Regions from separate parts of the Homo sapiens genome. Here regions 1 and 2 are each linked to region 3. The links are contacts of gene promoters, found by promoter capture Hi-C in blood cells and fetal thymus (Javierre and others, 2016). All regions are on one chromosome and are shown on one strand. The core of a region is centred on a gene start or on the middle of the fragment in contact, and the rest is flanking DNA. Distances in the headings are between cores, read along the strand shown.

The links. The method cuts DNA at HindIII sites, captures the fragments that hold promoters and counts their contacts. A CHiCAGO score of 5 or more calls a contact.
Region 1: a fragment that was not itself captured here is called in contact with the fragment with the promoter of CAGE1 in region 3 in 4 of 17 cell types (fetal thymus, naive CD4 T cells, non-activated CD4 T cells and 1 more); the score reaches 8.0 in fetal thymus.
Region 2: a fragment that was not itself captured here is called in contact with the fragment with the promoter of CAGE1 in region 3 in 4 of 17 cell types (activated CD4 T cells, naive CD8 T cells, non-activated CD4 T cells and 1 more); the score reaches 7.0 in activated CD4 T cells.

Annotation. Positions count from the first base shown.
Region 1 is chr6:6,719,729-6,723,549 of GRCh38, forward strand. All of the region lies in intron 2 of LOC101928004 (a long non-coding RNA gene), which reads right to left. The region is part of intron 4 of LOC101928047 (a long non-coding RNA gene); the gene reads left to right. Among named protein-coding and RNA genes, the nearest start is that of LY86-AS1, 99 kb to the left of the region's middle. The HindIII fragment of the contact is 1,788 bases long and covers 626-2,413 here.
Region 2 is chr6:8,070,320-8,074,035 of GRCh38, forward strand. The region is part of intron 3 of EEF1E1-BLOC1S5 (EEF1E1-BLOC1S5 readthrough (NMD candidate)); the gene reads right to left. It also overlaps a transcript of EEF1E1 not described here. Among named protein-coding and RNA genes, the nearest start is that of BLOC1S5-TXNDC5, 7.8 kb to the left of the region's middle. The HindIII fragment of the contact is 6,631 bases long and covers 1-3,716 here.
Region 3 is chr6:7,388,001-7,391,937 of GRCh38, forward strand. CAGE1 (cancer antigen 1) reads right to left here and starts at 1,742. Exons shown (of 14, transcript NM_001170692.2): 1 at 1,202-1,742. It overlaps RIOK1 (RIO kinase 1), which reads left to right and starts at 1,808. Exons shown (of 17, transcript NM_031480.3): 1 at 1,808-2,073. The coding sequence starts at 2,003. RefSeq lists enhancers at 1,421-1,480, 1,491-1,540, 1,671-2,090, 1,694-2,480. The HindIII fragment of the contact is 2,322 bases long and covers 1,173-3,494 here.

The sequences.
Region 1 (3,821 bases), core at 270-2,769, 670 kb before region 3:
CTGTTCCCCACAACCATGTTAGGGGCACACTTCTCTGACCCCCTGGAACATAGCTGGACCTTGCTGGAACATTTCAACAAGACCTTGTTAAAGAGGTGATATTGACACATTACTAAACTAGATATTGATTTACAAGAAATGTTTTTCACAACATCTACAAAAATGTTAAAAAAAAAAAAAAAAAGTATTCAGAGAAACCCACAGGAGCTTCAGAGGTTCTGCAGAGAGGTAATTCCAACTGCACTGATTTCCACTGCATGGTTTTGGATGGAGGAGTTCATTGGAAAAGCCAGTTTAGAGGTGGTGTGAAATGTAGGGTGATCTTAACAGATGGAGTGCTTCTCAGCCAGGATAACTAAAGGGCTGATCGAAGTACTCTATCATAAAATTATAAAAGGAGCCCTAAAATTAAAAAGCATCCTGGCCATACTAGTAGGCCCAATTGGAGGACTCTGCAGGAATTGTCACATGGAATGTGGAGTTTATTAGAGCACCAGAAACAGAGCTGAGGCTTGATGTCCCCACAGGAGACGAGAATCACAGGACCTGATGTAACGTCTAGAAAATGCGTTTAGCAAAGGTTTCTGTTGAACTTTAAAAAAGAAATGTTCTACTCTACTCAATAAGCTTACCACATGCTGCACGGCTAATGACAGAACTGGAAGGATCTACCTATAAAAAAAGCATGGCTTAATAAGACATGGGAATATAAAGCACACACACAAACAAAAATCAAGTAATTATAACTCCTTAGAACACTAGGATGCTTGTTGCAAATGACAAAGTTTGAGTTTCACAGACACGAAGTTGAACCAAAAATCCAGACACAAGAGTACACACTCAATGATTCCATGAATATAAAGTTAAAAACCAACAAGACCAGCTGTGAGTAACCAGTATAGCAGTTCTTCAAACAATTAAAAATGGAATCGTCATATAATCCAGCAATTCCACTTCCGGGTACATTCCCAAAAGAATTTAAAGCAGGGCCTCAAAGACATCTTTATACATCCGTGTGCAAAACGGCATTATGTACAATAGCTGAAGGATGGAGGCAACTCAAGCGTCCATCAACAACAGATAGATGAGTAAACAAAATGTGTTGTATCCACACAATGAAATACATTCAGCCTTAAAAAAGAAGGAGATTCTGATATACGCTGCAGCATGGATGAACCTTGTGAACATCAAGCTCAGTGAAACAAGCCAGACACACAAGGATGAATGCTTTATGATTCCACTTGCATGAAGTACATAGAGGAGTACTGTCCATAGAGACAGAAGGTAGAAGAATGGTTGCCAAAGGCTGGGAGCAGGGGAAATGGGGAGTTGTTTAAGGTATATGGAGTTTCAGTTTTGCAAAATAAAGAATTCTGGAGGCAGATGGTGTTGATGGTGGCACAACAATGAATATGTTGAAATGTCACTGAACTGTATATTTAAAAATGGTTAAGATAGTAAATTTTATGTTGTATTTTACCACAATTAGTTTCTTTTAACCAAAGGGAGGAAATACAGGCAAACTAAGCTATGGAAAGGATGAGGGCTGGTCCTGGAGAAGTGGTCAAGGTGTGTACCCGGGAGCTGGTCGTGTTCTATAGTTTAATGGGAGTGCTGGTTATGTAAGCCTTTTGAGTTTTTGAACTTTTATCAACCAAATATTTAGAATTTTGCCAGTTTTCTCTATGAGTGTTGTGGTTTAATTAAAAGTCTTAGTTTATAGGAACAAAAAAATACCTATACAAGAAAGGTCATAAGGATGAAAGAATCTAAATTCTAGAGTGATATACTACACTACTAACTTCTGCTCATATTTTGTCCCATAATAGCTTCTGGAGCTCCCAAGTTTAAAAGCAACTTTTTATTGCCACTTTGGTTAATGGGCAAGAACCACCACCCCAAGAGTCTATTTTTGTTTTTAAGAAACTTTCTCCTAGGAGTCCCTCCCACAAGGCTGCTCAGCACAGTCCAGGCTCAGTCAAGCACTTCGAGTACAAAACAACTTGAGTGCGTGGAGATCTCACTGTGTGAGCTTTGTAGGGATTAGGTAAATCACAGGTGCACCCTTACCTGAACCAGCCAGCAGCTTATTCATTAATCAAGTGCTTAACAAGCTGTTGCTCCAAGTTCCCCTCTCAGCCTGGCAGACTGGTGTCTTTGGACTGATTCCCAGTTTGGGGCCCCCTCAGCTCCCCTTTTCCACTCTGCCAAAACTTCTCCCTGCAGGTCCTGTCCTATTCTCTTCTCTGCTATATTCCCCATGCAGAGTTGGCCTCTTGGGTTTCTCCTATGTTTCTCCAGCTTTCTGACTCCTGCCCAGAGGCTGCTCTTAAGACTCAGGTTGTGATCTGAACCAGTTTCTCCACAAGGAGTCCCAGGTCTGTCCTCTCTGAACCATTGTCTTTCTTTGCAAAGCTTTTCTACTTGGATCCTATATCCCCTTCCCGCACCTGCCCATGGTCCAAATGCGGCACAGAACTCACCAAAACCAGCTCTACATGTCATTCCCATCTGCTCAAGCCTTAATACTGACTTCTTCCAATAGAATAAGCCCTGCATCCAAACAATCTAATGCTCACATTTTCATTTTACCAGGGAGGAAACAGGCTTGGAGAAGTAACTTGCCTGTGAGCCTATAAAAGTGGCAAAGCTGGCCGGGTGTGGTGGCTCACGCTTGTAATCTCAGTACTTTGAGAGGCCAGGGTGGGAGGATTGCTTGAGCCCGGGAGTTGGAGACCAGTTTGGGCAACAAAATGAGACTTCACTACAAATAATTTTTTGAAAATTAGCTGGGTGTGGCAATGCACCTATGGTCCCAGCTACACGGGAGGCTGAGGTGGGAGAATCACTTCAGCTCAGGCAGTCCAGGCAATATTGAGCTGTGATCACGCCACTGCACTCCAGCCTGGGTGACAGAGCAACACCCGATCTCAAAAAAAAAAAAAAAAAAAAAAAAAAAAAAAGAGGTGGGGGGCAAAGCCACAATGCAAGGGTTACCTGAATTTGGTGGGCTGCCTATTGCACGGGGTAGGGTATATTCAGAGCCTCGTCTACTTTCTGCTGAGCTGAAGTCCTACTGTTGGGTACCATTTTCCCCAGGACCCCACGGCATTCAGATCTTGCCGGCTTCCTCCAGCCACTGCTAGAAGAACATTAGCAGCGAATCATGGAATGTCAGGGATTCAAAGTAGAGGCCCTCTGGTTACATCCTTTTGTTTTAAACATCACATATAAGCCCAGGGCCCTCTGTTTACTTTTGATTTTACCCAAATAGAACCAACTAGGGAGCAGATGTGTGCAGCTCAGCAGGAATCCAGCTTTGGGGAAATACTGAGGTCTCCAGACTTGGGACTGGCTTTGTGTGAAATGCTTGGTTAGGGGAAAGGGGCTCCCTGCTGAACAAGACTGGAAAAACATCTCCCAAAGGCACCTTGTGGCATCTGTAAGCTGTGGGTTGCAGGGGTGCTCATAAAACAAAACTCAAGATAGAAAATACACATATTTCAGACCCAGCTCTGTCCCCTTGAAGCCAGCACTAACAGCCAGCTTGACCCTTTTTCCTGACAATCCCTTACAATGTGGGAGCCAGGGTTCCCACAGGGCCTGAAGAGGACATGCCCGGGGCTCCTATAGCCTTAGAGAGCTGCTCACACGATCTGGGGCTGGATGAGCACCATCAGGCTTATGGAGAGAGACTAGGCCAAAAGTTCAGGCCAGTTCTGTTGAAAGAGAGAACACTTTAAAAAAAAAAATTGTGTTTCTTCAGAATTTGCTCAGGATTATCAGAAAAGAGAGAAGGAAAAAAAAAAACTTTCATCCTC
Region 2 (3,716 bases), core at 981-3,480, 680 kb after region 3:
TTGGGTGTGATGTACATGTACCTGATTATAATAGAGCTCTATTCCGTCGTAACAATATAACCGCTTAAATTTTTATCAACATATCTTGAAGCTATTCTGGGCAGACTTGCTATTCTGAATGGAATTTCAGCAGGGCTCTCATGAATTACATTTTTTTTTTTTTGAGTCGGAGTTTTGCTCTTGTTCCCCAGGCTGGAGTGCAGTGGTGCGATCTCGGCTCACTGCAACCTCTGCCTCCTGGGTTCAAGCGATTCTCCTGCCTCAGCCTCCCGAATAGCTGGGATTACACACATGCACCACCACACCTGGCTAATTTTGTATTTTTGCTAGAGACAAGGTTTCTTCACGTTGATCAGGCTGGTTGTGAACTCCCGACCTCAGGTGCTCTGCCCACTTTGGCTTCCTGAAGTGCTGGGATTACAGGCGTGAGCCACCGCGCCTGGCCACGAATTACATTTTTAAGGGGGCACTGACAGTATGATGCGCTGGCAGTGGATGATCGTTCACATTCATTCCACTCCTCCCTTCCTGCCTTCTTCATCCCTGTGGGAGATCTAATGTGCCTATTACTGACTGTGGTTAACCGTGGGCTCAGGTATAATTGGGTGGGGTAAGTGGGAGTTTACCAGTACTGCTAGCAAATAAACTACTACATATCTGGCCATCTTAATTTTAGGTGTAACTGGGAGTAACCATGAGAATTCCTATATATCTGCTAAAAGCCTTAGTGAATAATCTTTTTGCTGAACTGGGGGTGGGAGATGGGGTGTTTAACTGGGAAGTCGGGTCATGGATGGATGATTATGTCATTCTTGGAGCTATGTCACCTTTTCTACCATATTGTGATAGTCATTGCTTGGGAAGAGACTCACAACTGCAGAACTACACAAAATACTTCATGATCTCTTGGATGCTTGGGTATAAGCATGGCTGTGGTTGTTTGACATTGTTCCCATTCTATAATTTCTATTTGTTTTAAAACTCGTTTTTATTCTAATTAATGAAAAAGCTCACAGACGTTTGACTGAAGAGTGATTCTTCCCTACTTGGAATTTTTGGTCTGTTCCTAAAAGTTTCACATGGAATAGGGACATGTGTCTAATCAGGGGAGTTGAATCAAATCCAGTGAACATGGCAACAGATGGTCTTCTAACCCTGAAATCATACAGTTCCCACTTCAGTCATGGTCTAACCAAGGTGGTGGTTAGCATGTGGGTTAGTCTCTGCCTCCTCTCTAGCTCCTAAATTAACATGAGATCATATTAATGTTGTAAAATTCCCATACAGAGCTCAGAACATATTAAATACTCAGTAAATGATATCTAATTATTTACTTTCAAACAATGCTGAGTGGCTGGCAGCCTCCCAAAGAGTGCTCTATATACCGTTTCAGGAATGTGTTCACAGACCATTGGATTGTAAACTTTATGAGGGCAGGGACGTGACTGCGTTATCTGCAGGGCCTAGCAGAGTTCTGTTACACAGTATGACCTAAATAATATTTAGATTATCATTGACTGGTCAGTGCTGTAGGCTTCTCGGAATTACAGAAAGAAAATCCTTGGAAAGGGGCTTTCACTTTTCAGAAGGAAGAGCATTCACAAAGATAGCTGCACTCTCTTCTAGACAGGTCGCATCAATCTTTGTTTTTTTTTTTTTTTTTTTTTTTGAGACGGAGTCTCGCTCTGTCGCCCAGGCTGGAGTGCAGTGGGGGGATCTCAGCTGACTGCAAGCTCCGCCTCCCGGGTTCACACCATTCTCCTGCCTCAGCCTCCTGAGTAGCTGGGACTACAGGCACCTGCCACCACACCCGGCTAATATTTTTGTATTTTTAGTAGAGACGGGGTTTCACCGTGTAAGCCAGGATGGTCTCAATCTCCTGACCTCGTGATCTGCCCGCCTCGGCCTCCCAAAGTGCTGGGATTACAGGCGTGAGCCACCGTGCCCAGCTAATCAATCTTTGTTTTTAAGAGACAGGGTCTCACTCTGTTGCCCAGGCTGGGATCCAGTGACACAATCATAGCTCACTGTAATCTCAAATCCTGGGCTCAAGTGATCCTCTTGCTTCAGCCTCCCAAAGCACTGGGATTACAGGTGTGAGCCACCACACCTGGCTCATTGATCTATTAGAAACAAAATAAGAAAGACAGCATGGTCCTTTTTTCCAACAGCTTGAAAAGTGTGAGAACCAGAGACTTTTTTTTTTTTTTTTTTTTGAGATGGAGTCTTGCACTTTCACCAGGGTTGGAGTACAGTGGCGCGACCTCAGCTCAGTGCAACCTCCGCCTCCTGGGTTCAAGTAATTCTCCTGCCTCAGCCTCCCAAGTAGCTGCAATTACAGGTGCCTGCCACTATGCCCAGCTAATTTTTTGTATTTTTAGTAGAGATGGGGTTTCACCATGTTGGCCAGGCTGGTCTTGAACACCTGACCTTGTGATTCATCTGCCTCATCCTCCCAAAGTGCTGGGATTACAGGCATGAGAGACTTTTAAACTGGTAAGTAATGTAAATTCATGTTTTATCAAAATCCCAGGATGCTCTGCCACCATTTTTATCTCAGGCTCACATGTTGAGCAAGTTGGTACCTCAGGGATGATTGGCAGGTAGGAAAAGTCTTAATAATTTGGCTTTATGATTTTACAATCTTCCATAGCAGTTTGACCTTTACTCATAACTTTCTACATATTAGGCACAGTGCTGAGTAATTTTTATATATTCCCACTGCAAATTAAATGAGATCAGTTGTCTTTACCCCTATTTCATATGAGGAATTCCATGTGCAGTGACTTGAGCAAGGTCTCATAATTAATACATGATGAGGCTGGTGTGCTCGACTCCACTGCTTCCCCACCCCCAAATGATTTAATGCTGTAATTCACATATTACAACATTCACCATTTGAAGTGTACAAGTTAGAAGTTTTCCGTATATTCCCAGAGTGGTGCAACCATCTCATTTATTCTTAAAATTATGTACCCATTTATTTTATCTAATACCTAGGGCAGGTTTTTTCTAGGTTGGTAAAAACTGATTCCACAAGTTAATTAAGCAGAATTTTATGGCACTCCATGTAGAGTAGTTTACAGGTAAGTTTGAGCCAGACATTTGTGTTTGAATCTCAGTTCCTTGATCTCAGTTCCTTGTATGATGTTGGGTTAGTTCCCTACCTCTGTGTGCCTCAGCTTCCTTATCTGCAAAAGGGGATAAAAAAGGAGTTAATTCACTTAAAGCACTTAGAATAGTGCCTGATACACACTAAATGCTCAATAAATGTTATCTATTATTGTTGTTATTAAAAGTTTTAACAGATATTTTAAAAAGTATTAACAGATCTTCATAACTGAATACTACAGAATCGTAAAATTAGCTCTGAATCATGAAAATTAAATTGTCAGTGAAATGTGGTCAGTGGAAATTGTATTATATCCCAATTCTTTGCAAATTGATGATCCATGTGATGTCAGCAATGTATTAACAAAATATCTTATACAATTGATCATTTGGCACTCAGAAGGCATTTTCCCATTTAAGCATTACTCACTGTGACAGAGATAGCTGGTTGCCTATGCAGTATCCCTTTTCCTTCTTTTCTCATTGACAGAGCAGAGCTTTATTCTGGGTGCCCTCCGACTACACATCTGGCCTCCTCCCAGCTGGAGTGGCCAAAATTGTAAATCAATACAGCCAAACAGGGCTTCCAGGAAAGGCCCTTCAGG
Region 3 (3,937 bases), core at 492-2,991:
CCAGCCTGGGTGACAGAGCAAGACTCCATCTCAAAAAAAAAAAAAAAAAAAAAAAGTCTTTCAGTAACCTGTGCTTTCTTTCCATCCCATGTTGCCACACTGGTCCATATTCTCCTGACTTCCTCAGGCCTGTCCAGAGCTCCAGAGCTGAGAGTGGAAAGGATGGCCACTCACATTGATTCTATAAATTTTTGTCCTTCCAGGCCATCCATAGCCTGGAGTGACATCCCCTACCCGGTACTCCCCTGCTCTACTCAGATCAGGCTCATTTCCCTGCAGACAGATAATGTTCCTTACGAATTAAGCTTCAGTCATCTGCCCTGGCACGTGCTTCTCTCCTAAAACCTTCCCATCTACCCATTCATCTATTTTCAAAATTCCTACAATGTCTTCAGTCTCTAAATCTCTATCTTACAATTCAGCACTTGGTGATTTCGTTTACTGTTTTAGAGCTTCACCACTGTTTCAAGGGTGTTAGTGTTTGTGTTTACAGATCATAAATGTCTTGAGAGGAGCATACTTAGGGCTTTCCAATATCCCCTACTGCAAATGGACCAGTGCTGTCTACACAGCAAATATTGATTGAATAAAACCTGCATTCCAATGACTTATTTCTATCAAGCTCTTTCAATTTATAGTCATTACTCATCTGCCTGGATTCTTTTATTGAATTTCTGAATGAATAGTTTATTGAAAATTAGTTGTTTTCAAACCTATGTCATCACTTGGTAAAATATAAAAAAGTAAGCCAAGCAGACCAGTCAGGATCAGTGAAAGGCCCAACTTTATGCTCACTTCTCCCTTGTCTTTCAAATAATGCTGCCTGGATTGTGGTGAGATCTGAAAAATTCTTGCTTTGTTTTCCCAATGCAAAAAAGCGCAAAGGCCTTGTTTCTTAGTTTTCTTGTTTGTGAACCCAGCACTTCCAATTACATTTCTACAACTTTGTTCATCCCTCATGTGGCACTGCACAATCTGCCAGTTTACCTTTTTAATTTAAAGTTAGACTATTTTTTCCATCTTTCATTTGTCCTTACAGGTTTATGTTGGATTTTTAACATATTTATCAAATGTTTGAATAGATGTTCCAGAGACATTCTAAAGCTGTTTTAAGATAGGAGTTAAAAGAGGTGTCACGGGAGTTACTCGCAAAAACTATAGTTTTGTTTAAAAGCTTTTTCAGTTGTAAGACAAACTTTACCTTTTTAAAAAGCACTTATCTCATTCATTTTTCACCTCAAAACGAGACACCAAACTTTTTAAGACACAAAAGTGTGCTCACTTCCAGGATCCATAGTTTCTTGGACCCACGCTACGGACCTGGCTCTCCCTCCCTCTGCACCGGGTTTTGTGGGAGGGAGAACGCTTTCCAACCTCCTCCACCAAGGACTCTCACAAACTCGCAATCGGGCTCCCGGAGTGCTGGAACGCCCCTGTGTGACGTCCGCCCGCGCCGGGGGAACTCCGCAGAGACAGGTGCAGCCCGCGAGGCCCGAGCGACCCTACTGTGGGTGCGGTGTCTTCCCAGAGAGTGGTGAAGTTAGGAAGGTACGACCCCCTAGGCCGAACAGCCTGTGGGCTAGCTGGCGCCTCCTGCCGCAGTAAACACAAAGTGGGGTACAGAAACGAAAACTCCGGGAAGAAACGGCCAGCACGGGCCTCGCCGTGCCGGCTACTCAACACGCCTTCCTGAGAGCACAGAACATCCACAGCCCTATACAGCGCGCCATCCAGAGAGCTCCGGACTCCCAGCTCGGCGCAGGGGCGGGACTTCCGCTCAAGTCAGACTTCCGGGCGAGGCGGTGAGGGGCTTCCGGTTGGGGTGGCAGGGTGGTGGATCTGTCGGTCCCGTTTTCCCGTCGCACGTGGTGGCCACTGTTGGCTTCTGAATGGTTTGCAAGGCGGATATCCACGCCAAGGCCTTTGGATCGGCCGTGGGTACATCCGTCTGAGCCGTTCCTTTCCATCGCAGAGCGGCGGCCTCCGGCGGCGCTCTCCAGTCATGGACTACCGGCGGCTTCTCATGAGCCGGGTGGTCCCCGGGCAATTCGACGACGCGGACTCCTCTGACAGGTAGGCGGCCGTACAGTGCCCTGGCTCTGGGTACGGCTCTCTCCTTGACCGCCCCCTTGGGGTGTGGACTCTTGTTTGCGGTTTAGAGGGAGACTAGTGGTTCATCACTCAGCGTCTCTCTTGACAACCCTTTGCCTGTTTCTGCATCCCAGCTGGGTTTTTCTCCCAGTTCACGCGGCAGAGTTAAGTGAAAGCTACTTGTCAAGGGAGTCTGCGGTTCTCAGGTCGGTTAGCGTCACTGGGAGGCAGAGTTGGGGATAGCGATTAGGAAACATGGGTTTTTGCGTTTTAACCACATTTAGCGTTCAACAAATACTTACTAAGCACTTAATATGTACCACGTTCTGTCCTGGGCGCCGGAGGTAACAAGAAGAACCAACTTCCTGCTGTCATGGAACTTTACCTTCTACGTGAAAGAGAGGGCACACCATTTAAAAACCAAATAATGATGTAGACTATGCAAATCGTTTGATATACCAAGTGGTGACTGAATGGGTAGGGAAAGGTTAAGTCCAGATTTGAATGACAAGGAGCTAATCCTGGCAAGAGCAGAGGGAACAGCATTTCACACAGAAGGGACAGCAAGAGCAAAGGCCCCGAGGCCAGAGTGCCTAGAGCACAGTGGAGGTAGTTGAGAAGATTGGTAGGGTGATAGAGAAGTAAGAAGGGGGGCCAGATCATGGAGACCTTTACAAGTGATGGTGAAAAGTTCAGATATTAATGTGGGTCTTATGGAAAGCCATAGGAGGGATTTTAGCAGAAGAATGACATTATTTGCTTGGTGATTTAAAGGAATCATTCTTTCTAGGTAGATGATGTTCATGGAGGGTGGGAGTGGAACAGAGAGACCAGTTCAAAAATAATAAGGTAATCAGATTCAAAGATGGTGGGGACTAGAGCCCAGATCCTAAAGATATGTCTTGGAGGTAGAAGTGGCAGCGTTTGGTGGTAGACTGGACGTGGAGTCTGGGGAAAGAGGGATGAAGGATAACTCCTGCCTAAAAGCAAAATGAAACATATTGGAGTTATTTTGGAATTCCAAGAAAACAGCTTGTACTTTATGTTTACAGTAAGGATTCATCACATGCGGATTTTGTTAATTATTGGGGATGTTTTCAATAAATATATGTATGTTGAATGCTTTCTGTGAGTCAGATCTAGTCTTAGGTGGTAGGGAGGCATTGGTAAATACCATCCTGAATGACACAGAGCTTGCACCCTAGCAGGGGAAACCGATATTATTAAATAATTAGACTATTTGTATTCGAATTGGGTAAGTAGTACAAAGGAGAAGTGGGGGAAAAATAGGGAAGACTTCCTTGAGCAAGTGATAGTGAGCTGATACTTGATGGATGAGTAGGGGTTAGCCAGAGAAAGAGGAAGGGCATTCCAGTTTTATGGTTACGGAGAAGTGTACAAAAAGCTTTAGAGAAGAAAAGCAGCAGAAGAAACACAGCCAGCATAGCTAGTGGGTAGTTAATGGTAATGAGAGGGCACTAATTTACCATCCACCCCAGGGTATTGTAAGGATACACCAGTGATTTTCCATTGGGGAAGATGTTGCCATCCCGACTTCTACCCAGGGGACTTTTGGCAATTTCTGGAGACGTTTTTGTATGTCACAGCTGGGGGTGGTGGTACATTAGTGGCATCTGGTAAGTAGAGGCCAGAGATATGCTGCTAAAAATCCTACAGTGCAGAAGACAGTCCCCCACAACGAAGAATTATCTGGCAAAGTTACAACTTTAACATGCCACTCTAGGCAATTATATATCAATCTGTGGAGCATATGTATGAAGTCCTGGTAAGTAGCAAGTGTTTGATGATTGTCTGTTTTCTTCCTCCACATGTCCACGGGGAACCC